2 separate regions of the Homo sapiens genome follow, and region 2 is linked to region 1. Evidence: promoter capture Hi-C in human tissues and cell types (Jung and others, 2019). All regions are on one chromosome and are shown on one strand. Each heading gives the region's core, a stretch centred on a gene start or on the middle of the fragment in contact. The rest is flanking DNA. Distances are from core to core; before and after follow the strand shown.

The links. Contacts are between HindIII fragments. The study calls those that stand out against the background at their distance.
Region 2: a contact is called between a fragment that was not itself captured here and the fragment with the promoter of FSIP2 in region 1, in 1 of the 25 tissues and cell types used here (H1 embryonic stem cells).

The regions. Positions count from the first base shown.
Region 1 is chr2:185,734,217-185,740,938 of GRCh38, reverse strand. It overlaps FSIP2 (fibrous sheath interacting protein 2), which reads right to left and starts at 2,135. Exons shown (of 23, transcript NM_173651.4): 1 at 1,946-2,135; 2 at 1,468-1,593. The coding sequence starts at 2,044. It overlaps FSIP2-AS2 (FSIP2 antisense RNA 2), which reads left to right and starts at 462. Exons shown (of 3, transcript NR_110217.1): 1 at 462-560. RefSeq lists a silencer at 1,734-2,003. The HindIII fragment of the contact is 10,800 bases long and covers 1-2,755 here.
Region 2 is chr2:185,356,677-185,362,828 of GRCh38, reverse strand. No RefSeq gene overlaps it. Among named protein-coding and RNA genes, the nearest start is that of FSIP2, 380 kb to the left of the region's middle. The HindIII fragment of the contact is 4,559 bases long and covers 1-3,791 here.

The DNA of each region.
Region 1 (6,722 bases), core at 886-3,385:
TTTTAAGAAATCATGTTTATTTAGTGTGTTAGATTGACTGTATGCCCCCAAAATTCATATGCAATCCTAATCTTCAGTGTGATGGCATTAGGAGCTGGGGCCTTGGGGGATAATTAAGTCATGAGGGTGGAGTCCTCATCAAGGGAGATAATGTTCCTATAGAGACCACAGGGAACTCTCCAGCCTTCTTTCTACCATGCAGGGAGGTAATAATGAAAGGACTTCAAAGGACCCCCACGAGAATCTGACCATGCTGGTGTCCTGATCTTGGACTTCCAGCTCCAGAACAATGATAAATAAATTTACGTTATTTCTAAGCCACCCAGTCTATGGTACATTGTTATAACAGCCTGAACTGTATAAGACATTAAGCAAGTATCAAATACCAAGGGGTTCTATTTATTTCTGATGACATCATAGACATTAGAAGGGTAAGTGGGCCACTTAGAATTCTTTCTTGTAGAACTTTTTGCAAAACTGATAAAAGCAACCAGTCAACAAGAATGTACTAAACCTCCTTCAGCATTGACTACTTAGTCAAAGGCTGGGGAGGTTTGGGGGTAGGTGTGGTGTTAAGGACTAAAAACATGAAAAGGCTTAAGGGAAGTACACACTATAATCCAGTATGATTAACTATGGTTTGTGTAAGTGAGATCACACAAATCAAGGGCAACGTGAACTCTAAGCAAAAATAAGCTAACGGGGGGGCTATCACAGTTCAGAGAATCTTGATAGCTCAGATTCATAGACTGGGGAGAAGAAGACAAGGTATGCCAGGTTTGGGGGCAAAGTTGACAAAATACTGAAGTATTAGCATGGTATTTATGGGTAGGTGTGAAAGACTCAACTTGAAGAAGCTGAGCCTCTCTGGTTGGAGACAATGCTGGATGGAAAGGCTGGGGCAAATTATGGAGTCTCTTCCTCATTGAGGCAGGGCTTTCTTTCATTAAAGTAAGGTTAAAGTACTAAACATATTAACTCATTTTAAGTCCCACTGTTTCAGTTCTTTTTTTTTTCTTTATGTGTAAAATAGAATTCAACTCAAAACAAAATAATGTTTCCCGTGAAGAGAGTTTGGTCCAAGATACTGTCAGTTAAAATCGTAACATATCATTAAATGGCAGCTATCACTAATAACCTTTCAGCTTCTAAACATGTTTCTAAGTACATCAAATCTTACTATATAAGTATATATGAAGTTTTATTATAAGGAATATTAATATGGTACCGTGAATTGTTAATTAAGGACTAAGAATCTAAACTTTCTGGAATATGATTATGTCCAAACCATTAAGATGAAAGTGCTTCATATGCATTCTAAACAATACCTTCGGTCAGATGTGGGATTTTCTTTTTCCTGTAAATGTTGATGCAAATTCCTTTAATGAATTTTGTATGATGCAGCCTTTGAGTTAAACAGCAAGTAGTAAAGGGTAAAGGAAAGAAAGACGATAAAAACTTGTTCACCTTTTCACCGAAATTCGTAGTATAGAATACAGCATTGCTTCCTGGGATCACAGGCAGCTTGACCCCGAGAGGTAGGTCCAGTAGCTGAGCCGGTCCAACCCCTGCAAAGTGGGTTTTGTGCACGCCCTGTCAGACACAATTGGAGAGTTTTGTCTTTCCTTTTAGGCAGTATTAGTTTAGTTTAGACCAATCTACTTCCATTGCAACCAAAGACTCCGAAGAATTATACAATCAGGGTTCGGGGCATCCTGAAGTCCTCCCGTTTTCCCTGGTCACCAGCTCTCCTGGCGTCCCGCGCCTGCCAGTTGCGGCCGGTACAGTCCGAGCCACCGCCACCGCCCCCGGGCGCCGCAAGAGGGCAGCCTCCTGACGGGGGACAGTTGGGAGCCTCGCGACCCGTGTGTGGCGATCCCTGCCCCGCTCCCCAGCAGGCCTGCGGCCGCCAGAGGGCGACGCCGCCCAGCTTGCGGCCACTCACGTCTCTGCACTGCTGGGTGTCCGCGGCCAGGACGCTGGCGACCGTCTTGGTGACGGCGACTTTGGCAGGCTTGGAGCAGGCGCCGAGGTACAGCTCCATGGCCGGCACAGCCCCCTCAGCCCCTTCCTCACCCGCCCCGCTCTCCTTCTCTAGCACCCCGTTGTCCCTCTGTCCGGACCTGACCAGGAATGGCCAGAGCCCAACGACCTCAGCCCCGCCCCCCGCGTTCCAGGCTTCCAATGGTAGCGGCCCCAGAAGGGCGGTGGCCTCCTGAGGGGCGGCTCGCGCCAGCGCGTAGAGCGCCCGCAGAGCTGGGAAAATCGGTCCGAGAGGCCTGATCTGAGAGGACCACAGTTGAAACTTCATCTTTCTCTGAAACCATCACGCCTTAGCCAATCCTAACGAAAACGTATAAGCTTTGTTGGTGGGTAACTGGTTAATTTCCCCTGGCTTCCAAGGAGCCCTGTTCCGTTCAATAAAAATTCCCGAGTGATTGTTTTTGCCCATTCTACATCTTCCCCCATATAGACCACACCCCATCCCCAGGCTCCCACAGCTTCTTCCCACACCAGGTCCACAAGGCAGACGCGTTGGCTTCCTAAGGGGCTCATTGCCTTCCTCCTGCCTCTTCTGTCCCCTAGGTTTCCTTCTCCTTTCTAGCGCCCTTTACCACTCTCCCACTGCCTCCTCTCTGCTCCTGCAGCTTGATCCTATTTCCCTCTTTCTCCTCAACCATCCAGCCGAAATTTATAAAGTGCTTGACGCTTCTGGGCCAGTCATTGAGCTAAGCACTGGGCAGGACACAGCCGTGAGTAAAATATGGCCCCTGACTGTAAGAAGCTAACTAGACTGGGAGTATTCTGAGGGCAGAGACAGTATGTGTCTAACCCACCTGTTGTTTAGACTTAACTTCATACTTTCTTTGGTCCACTGCTGTTCTCTTTTATTTCTGGCCCGACTAGTAATAACAGTTACCATTTCTTCAGAATCTACTAACTTCCATATACTGTGCCAAACACCCTTTTAAACATTTATTTATTTTAGTAGCCTTATCAATAATTACTCTTTATTTTTCAAAGATTGAGGAAGACTGACAATTGCTGTTAAATGGTGGCTCCTGAGGCTGTTTTCTTAATCAGTGCACTCTGCTCTCTTTGTTGTAATTCCACACATGTGCTTAGGACTCTTAAATTTGAAATCTAAGCTTGGGATATAGTCTATTGCCAGCTTCCATATGGATATCCCACAATTGTCTTAAATTCAATCTACTCAAATCTCAACACACAACTTTCACCAAAACAGGAAAAAAAAACAAAGGCTTCTTCCTGCATTTCCTATCTCAGTGACAATACCAAAGTCTACCCAAGCCAGAAACTAAGGAATGCTTCTAGATACTTCTTTTTCCCCTTATCTCCCATGTTTAGTTGGTCCCCAAGTCCCACTAATTTTATCACTAAAATTAATTTGCCCGATTCTATCTACTCCTACTTTACTCTCCCGGTTAAGCCGCTAATCATTTTTTGTTTGTTTGTTTGTTTGCACCATTGCCACAGCCTTATAACATCTCCCTGCCACCATCTACCCCAAAAATCCATCTTGTATCAATTTGATCTTTGATGGCAAACTGACCATTTCTCTTCCTCACTTTAAACTCCCAACTGCCCTCAGCGCAAAGTGTGTAATGGCCTCTGTTACTTGGTCTCTGTATCAGTTTCTTATTGCCAGCAAATCACCACAAACTTAGTGGCTTAAATTACCACAAATATATTACCTTACAGTGATGGAGGTTAGTAATCCAAAGAGAATCTCACTGGGCAGAAACCAGTGTATTGGAAGTGCTGTGTTCTTTCTGGAAGCTCTAGATCACAACCTATGTTCTTGCCCTTTCCAGCTTCTAGAAGTTGCCTCTTCCTCACACGTTAAATCTGGCAATGTAACATCTTCAAACCTCTCTCTGACTCAGACCTCTGCTCCTTCTCTTCTACAATTAAAGAATCATTGTGATTACATTGGGCCCATCTAGGTTATCCATGCTAATTTATCTATCTTAAGATCAGCTGATTAGCAACCTTAATTCCATTAGCAATCTTAATTCCTCTTTGCTATGAAATATTCACATACTCAGTCTTGAAAATGAGGACATAGACATCTTTGGGGTACTATTATACTACCTCTCACAGCCCTGTTTTTGTCCATCTCTGAGACATAACTCCCCTGTACCACCTCTCAGAATTGAACCTCAAATGACACCAAACTGTTTGTGGTTAGTTCTCTACATGGGGCCTGCTTATTCATGCGTGATTCTGCATCTTTGTTTATGCTGTCCCCTCTGCCTGACAGCCCCTTTCAATTCACTGCTTGGCTAATTTCAATCAGCCTTTAAAACAATTCAAGTGTTACACCTCTGGGAAGTCTTTCTGTCTTTCTAAGCTTTTGACAAATTCTCTCCCTTTGTGCTTTCCTCCATCTTAACTTTTTCACATTACAGCAAGAATATCTGTTTACCTGTCAGTCTCCCTTTACTAGAATGTAAATTCTTTTAGAGCAGGGGTTGGTTTATTCGACTTGTATGCACAGCACCTAGCATAGTGCTGAGCAAGCACTTAGTGAGCACTAAGTAAAATTTTGTTTCCTGATCTAGTCAGACATGAATGAGAACCCGCTGAAAAATTTTAAGCTAATTCTTATTCTAGAAGAACACCCTGGCAACAATTTGGAAGGTGGATTTGTGGGGGTGAGAATAAAGATCTGGGAAACTTCATGATTTGTAGACAAGCAGAGAATGGATTTGAGAAAAATTTAAGAAGAAAATTTTCAAAACTTTGAGCTCTTCCTCATCTCACCTACTTTTAAAAGAACAGAGTTGGAGGGAATCATTGCTGTGAGAAGCTGACAGTGGTGGATGACAAGCTTGAATTTCCAGAGGAAATAGGTAAGCCAGAAAAAATGAATTCTCAAAAAAAAAAAGAAAAATCCACATCAAATAGGTGAGTTCTATTTATAAGGAAAGCAAATGGAAAAGAAGAAGTCTACAGTGTAGATAAAATATCTATGACATTTATATGTAAAGGAGAATTTGTTGTATTCTCGGAAAAGTTAGAGGAGTATGTGTCTGAAGTTTTATGAACATTGGGGTCTTTTCGGAGACTTTATTTATTGTCCTTTTCTACATAACAAACCATTTCCAAAATTTAGTGACTTTAAACAATGATTTATTACTCCTCACAGTTCTCTGGGTTTGCTGGTGTTGTCTTGGTTTGCACTTGCTTAGCTAGGGCTAGATCATCTAGGATGGCTTCACTCACATGTCTGGGCTCTCAGACAAAAACAAACAAATAAACTAGAATGATTGAGATGGCTGGATCATTGTCTATATGTATTCTTTTTCATTCTCCAGGAGGTTAGGCAATATGGTTTTACATTTTAGTCTCAAGACTTCCAGCATCAAGAGGGAGTAAACATTAATGTGCTCATGTGCTTCTCAAGTATTTGCTCGCATCACATTTGTTATTGTCTGGCATGGAAGGAAACTAACTACATAAAGATACAGATACACTAAGGCTCCCATCCATAGGGCTCATTGCCTCAGAAATCTGCCAAAGATCACTCTCTAGTCAAATGATTCACATTCCTTCTATATTCAAAACACACTTACCTCTCCTAAGACTACCAAGAGTCTCATTCAGTAATGTGATTAGGCTTAAAAATTTAGTGTTTTGTAATCTATAATTATGTCCATGTACAGCTATTTGAATACTGCCTGTATGAATTCAAAGACCTATGAACTAAAAAACAAGTTGGGTTAATAATCTATGTATGAAAAAGCAATTTATCCAAAACCTTAGGCTTAAAGCAACATTAATTGCTTATTGTGTCTAGTGGTTTCTCTTTGGGTTTGGAGATTCAGATGAGGCACAGAGGAGACAGTTGGTCTCTGTTCTATGATGTTTGGAACTTCAGCTGGCAGACTTGAAGACTAATAGCTGGAATCAGCTCCTTCTAAAGTTATAGGATAAAATTTTCTCCTTCTGAGTCTTACTTTTGAGATCTATTAGAGAAGATCAGAAGACACCTCAGTTTAGGGTTAATTATTGCTTTATTCTCCAAACTCTACCCAGTGACTCATCCATCAGAAACTTTTCCAACCTAGCTGGTGGGAACAGGTAATGTTTACAGCTGTTTGTGAAAGCCCAGCACTATCTCTTTTGAGTGAATATTTTCCATGGCATATGGTAGTTTTCTCACAGTATTCTGACAAATATGCAGGAAATACTCAAAGATAATTCTCTGCACATCTTGAAAGTTCTCGTTCCATGCAGCTGTCCTCTTTCTACTTTTCTTTTGCATGCTCTAGCTCTATCTGCCTTCCTGGGCTCTGGGTTCTGTCTTCTGAACTCAGGGAGTCAGATGGGATCCATCTGGATTCTCCTTCCCTCTGCTGTGGTTTGAAAGTTCTTTCAAGTTTTATCAATATGCCTCGCCTCTTTTGTTTATTGTTTTTCAGAGATCATTGACCATTCCCTGATCTAGTGTCTTGAAAATTGTTGCTTCCTATATTCTGTTTATTTTTTAGCTGTTTCAGGGCATATCTTCTCCATGTTACTCTGTCTTAAGAGGAAATACAACTCAATTTTACTTGTGATAATCGATGTAGAGTTTTTAATTCTTTAGACAACAATTACTTTATTTGGGGAAAATCCCGCATATATGAATGTTGGTAGATGTTCAATCCCACTTTTTACTGAAATTAAGACGGGTCACATATTTTCATTTGGCA
Region 2 (6,152 bases), core at 263-2,762, 380 kb after region 1:
TCGGTTTTGAGTGGGGTCCAGAACAGGAGAAGGCTCAGCAACAGGTCCAGGCTGCTGTGTAAGCTGCTCTGCCACTTGAGTCATATGACCCAGCAGATCCAATTATGCTTGAGGTGTCAGTGGCAGATAGAGATGCTGTTAGGAGCCTTTGTCAGGACCCTAGTGGTGAATCACAGGGGAGACCTCTAGGATTTTGGAACAAGGCCCTGCCATCTTCTGCAGATAACTACTCTCCTTTTGAGAGACAACTCTTGGCCTGTTACTGGGCTTTGGTGGAAACTGAACATTTGACTACGGGTCATCAAGTCACCATGCGACCTGAACTGCCTACCACGAACTGGGTGTTTTCTGACCCATCTAACCATAAAGTAGGTCATGCACAGCAGTATTCCATCATCGAATGGAAGTGGTATATACATGGTTGGGCTCGAGCAGGTCCTGAAGGCACAAGTAAGTTACATGAGGAAGTGGCTCAAATGCTCATGGTCTCCACTCCTGCCACTTCTTTCCCCCATTCTGCACCAATAGCTTCATGGGGAGTTCCCTATGAACAGTTGACAGAGGAAGAGAAGACTACGGCCTTGTACACAGATGGTTCTGCACAATATGCAGGCACCACCCGAAAGTGGACAGCTACAGCAGTACAGCCCCTTTCTAGGACATCCCTGAAGGCAGCAGTGAAGAGAAATCTTCCCAGTTGGCAGAACTTTGAGCAGTGCATCTGGTTGTGAACTTTTCATGAAAGGAATTTGCCAGCAGCAGAGAACAATACTGAGCCCTTGATATGTCACCATTCCTCAGGGTGATCAGCCAGCTACCTAGTGGCAGGTTGATTATATTGGACACTTTTCATCATGGAAAGGGCAGAGGTTTGTCCTCATTGGAATAAACACTTACTACGGGTATTGGTTTACCTATCCTGAATGCAGTGCTTCTGCCAAGTCTGCCATCCGTGGACTCATGGAATGCCTTATCCGCCATCATGGTATTCCACACAGCATTGCGTCTGACAAAGGCCCTCACTTTAAGGCTAAAGAAGTGCAGCAGTGGGCTCATGCTCATGGGATTCACTGGTCTTACCATGTTTCCCATCACCCTGAAGCAGCTGAATTGATAGAACAGTGGAATGGCCTCTTGGGGTCAGAATTACAATGCCAAGTAGGTGACAATTTTTTGCAGGCCTGGGGCAAAGTTCTCCAGAAGCCATGTATGTTCTGAATCAGTGTCCAACACATAGTACTGTTTTTCCCATAGCCAGGATTCACAGGTCCAGCAATCGAGGGGTGGAAGTGGAAGTGACACCACTCACCATCACCCCTATTTATCCATTAGCAAACTTTTTGCTTCCTGTTCCTGTGACATTACGTTCTGCCGGCCTAGGGGTCTTAGTTCCAGAGGGAGGAATGCTGCCACCAGGAGACACAACAACGATTCCATTAAACTAGAAGTTGAGATTGCAACCTGGACACTTTGGCCTCCTCCTACCTTTAAGTCAATAGGCCAAGAAGGGAGTTACAGTGTTGGTTGGGGTTATTGACCCGGACTATCAAGATGAAATCAGTCTACCTCTCCCCAACAGAGGTAAGGAAGAGTATGCATGGAATACAGGAGATTCATTAGGGTGTCTCTTAGTATTACCATGCCCTGTAATTAAGGTCAATGGGAATCTACAACAGCCCAATCCAGGCAGGACTACAAGTTACCCAGTCCCTTCTGGAATGAAGTTTTGGGTCACTCCACCAGGAAAAATACCACAACCTGTTGAGGTGCTTGCTGAAGGCAAAGGGAATACAGAATGGGTAATAGAATGTAGTTATCGACACCAGCTGCAATTACATGAGCAGCTGCAGAAACAATGACTGTAACTGTTGTATTTCCTCATTCTTTTGTTAAAAACATGTATGTGCATGTATACACTTGTACTAAGAAAATATTTTCAATTTATTTCTTTTCTCCTTTATCATGTGACGTAAGATTTATTGACTCTACATCAACATTTAAGTATTATTAACTTTATATAATAATATTTGGGCTACGGATTGGTGCATTTCCAGTTGTATGAAAGACAGTTGTATTATATTAGGGGTAGTTATGACCTTATTATTGTCCTTATTTGAAGATTACATATGACTTCAAGTTTATGGATTCAAGTTGACAAGAGGTGGACTTGTGATAGTTAATACTGAGTGTCAACTTGATTGGATTAAAGGATACAAAGTATTGATCCTGGGTGTATTTGTGAGGGTGTTGCCAAAGGAGAGTAACATTTGAGTCAGTGGGCTGGGAAAGGCAGACCCACTCTTAATTTGGGTGGGCACAATCTAATCAACTGCTAGCATGGCTAGACTATAAGCAGGCATGGTCTGAGTTAATATTTAATAAACTCCCCTTTATATATATATATATAACAGCTCTCTCAAGCCCTGAAGCAGATTGCTGCAGCACCAACTGACATTGCATCAAAGAGAAGAAATATCCAACTGTGTCCAGACAGCCCACACATTTGTTAAATGTAATAGAATTTTTGTTTTCTAATGACACTGAGTTTTGGAAGAATTTATTATACAACATCAGGTAACTAAAATATGTCATTTGTATTGCCCTCCCCCCTTTTTTTTGACAGAGTCTTGCTCTGTCACCAGGCTGGAGTGTAGTGGCACAATCTTGGCTCATTCTGCAACCTCTGCCTCCTGGGTTCAAGTGATTCTCATGTCTCAGCCCCCTGAATAGCTGGGACTACAGGCACGTGCCACTATGCCCAGCTAATTTTTTTTTATTTTTAGTAGAAACGGGGTTTCACCATGTTGGCCAGGGTGGTCTTGATCTCTTGACTTCGTGATCCACCCGCCTCAGCTTCCCAAAGTGCTGGGATTACAGGAGTGAGCCACACCGCCTGGCTATCTATAATACTTCTCAGAAGCCTGTAACATGATAGGCACTCAAAAGCTGATGAAAAAAATGGATGGAAGAAGGAATATATAAACGTGTTCAAGATTATCAAAAAGTATATGCTGAAGAGGCAGGGATAATTTCATGATTTAAAACAGGATTTCTCAAGATGGGTTTCAACGACAATATAAATCATAAACATCTAACATCAAAAGATAATTTGTTTACAATTTGCATCACTCATTTGCATTCAAGACTTGGTAAATCTGTGGGGGAGAAATTAAAGTATTTGCTTGAATTTTGTTTTCTTATCAAGATTCAGTGACATTCGTGCATGACAATGAAATTCATTGCTAGTGCATTTGTATACAAACATACATGCATACACATCTAGATAAAAACACATAGAAAATAAGTGGTGGAATCACTGCATTTATTTGGTTAATCAAAGCAAAACTGGCTTCTGCCTCAATCTAGTTATTTCAGCTAAATTATTTTACTTGCTGAAGTAAATATGGCTTATTCCCACTTTGAAATAAATTATCTTCATATCTGTAAAATCATTCTTTCCAAATTAATTTAGTGTAATGCTAAAAGGTTTCAATTATCACAGTTGCTCCAGAAAAATCATATGTATATTTACAACAATTTAATCAATTGTGATATTGCATTCTTTCACTTGAGAAAATTTCCTGTAAGTGCTCACGGATTGTCTTGCAATTAAATAAAGTGCATTTTGTAATGTCATTTTCAAATATATATTTACATTTTAATAAAATAGGTCAGATTCATTGGTTTTCTTTCATTGTTTGTTATTTTCTGTATTTCTCAGTTACAACCTAAAATATAGGTTGACTTTCAAATTTGATTAAATTTAGAGGAAAAATTTTAAGATAATTTATTTCATTTCCTATTTTATCAATCAAAATGGTTGCAAAATAGGAACTGTACAAATAAATTATAACAAAGGTTTGAGTGCAGTGCCTCATGTCTATAATCCTAGCACTTTGGAATGCTGAGGCAGGAGGATTGCTGGAGGCCAGGAGTTTGAGACCAGCCCGGGCAACGTAAAGGACCCAATCTCTACAAAAAGTTTTTTAAATTAGCAGGACATGGTGGCGTATGCCCATAATCCCAGATATTTGGGAGGCTGAGGTAGAAAGTTTGACTGATCCTGTGAAATCGAGACTGCAGTGAGCTATGATTACATCCCTGCACTCCAGCTTGGGTACCAGAGTTGGACCCTGGCTCAAAAGAAAAAAAATATTAAACCATATATTACATACAACAAAATTTATTATATCATAAAAATAAACTCTTGTGTTCTCAATAGTAATCTCACTCTTCCCCATGTCAATGGATGCCTCTGACCATATGCAGTAGGCCAAAACACTAAAGTAATGTTGGATATTTTTTTACATTGATTACATATATTGACACTAAACTCCTTGTTTTGAAAAATACTTTGTTTATTTGAAATGTAACTCAGTTATTGTTATTTGACAAAAAGATTTATTAAAAGAATATATATTACTATACAAGCAAACTGAAAGGTATACAGTATATAACAGCCAATAAGTAGAGTTCTAGTATATGATTTACGTTTATATATTTATACTTGCATGTACATGTATTTATATACACACACATTCATATATTATTATAAAATTCACAAAATGTTTGTATAACGCATCTAACCTACCTTCCTAATAAATATCCCAAGAACAAACAGCAAAATATAAACCAAGGACTGATTTCTTTTGTGTATACATTTCCATGTTGCCACAATAATAATTTCAAACATTTTTACATCAATAGATGCCTCTGACTGGAAAATACTTAATGTTAAGATCTATAATAAGGTGGTAGGCATCGTTATTTAATACTTCCAGATATTTTGCCTTCACACATTTTCAACTGGCCAATATATTTCTTATTATAAACTAGGTTTAAACAAATGACAGAAGCCTCAAATCTACAAAAGTTAAATGTGTGTGATTTATAGATATTAATATTGGTAAACCACTTAAATCTGTTACTCTCTTTTAAACAGACCAGGTAGGATCTCGAAAATAAAACATGGTAACTATGCAAATAATTATAATAATAATACGTAAGATAGAAAGCAGAAAACATATAGGTCAATTTGTATGCCTACATGAATGCTCCTAGATGTTCTAGAACTTTAGAACTATCTGTCTGAAATGATAATTTGAGGTAAGTAATCATATAAACTATATTTAAAAAAATTATTGTTGACTTTAAAAAATGGTATTAACTATAAAATTACTTTAAGAAAAATAAAGCTATTAAGCTACTGATTTGGACAGGTAATTTAATGTTAATGCTAGAGAGTTTAAATTTGAGAATTTATGATATTTTATTTTAGAACTTTTATTAAGAAGACTGCTGTTAATATAGAAAGAAATCATTCTACTTATTTAGAACAAAATAAAATATAAGTAGGCAGTAAAGTGAGAACAACTACTTTTTTCTCCTATTATGCTCAGGTTATAGATGAATGTGTCATCTTTTCTGACCTCAAAGAGTTTTTGACTTGCCACAGGAAGCAAAGCATACATTAAAAATTAGCACAGGGGGCTGGGCACGCCTCTAATCCCAGCACTTTGGGAGGCCGAGGCGGGCAGATCACGAGGTCAGGAGATCGAAATCATCCTGGCTAACATGGTGAAACCCCGTCTCTACTAAAAATACAAAAAATTAGCCAGGCATGGTGGTGGGCCCCTGTAGCCCCAGCTACTGGGAAGGCTGAAGCAGGAGAATGGCGCAAACCCGGGAGGCGGAGCTTCCGGTGAGCAGAGATCGTGCCACTGCACTCCAGCCTGGGCGACAGAGCGAGAGTCAAAAGAAATCTCAAAAAAAAAAAAAAAAAAAATCTCAAAAAAAAAAAAATTAGCACAGGGAAGTTGAATACTGTAATAGGTATGAGAGACAGGGGAATCTTAGTTGCTTACATCCACAAATAACGAGAATCACGTTTCCAAATTTAAGTACAGGCATTGTACCTATGCAATTTTTTAATATTGTCAATTTTTAAATGATATCCTGCTAGGGACAGGTTAGGAACCTGGACTGTGGTAACCACACAAGCAGTCTAAAAGAAATACTCACTTTTAATTCCTTATCCAATTATATGGTTGCTTTTGTAATTTCTAATTGGTCTATGGATGTGAAAGGATATAGAAGCATGAGGCTTTAATTTCTTTAAATAATACCAATTTCCAGAGCAAGATTGTTATTTA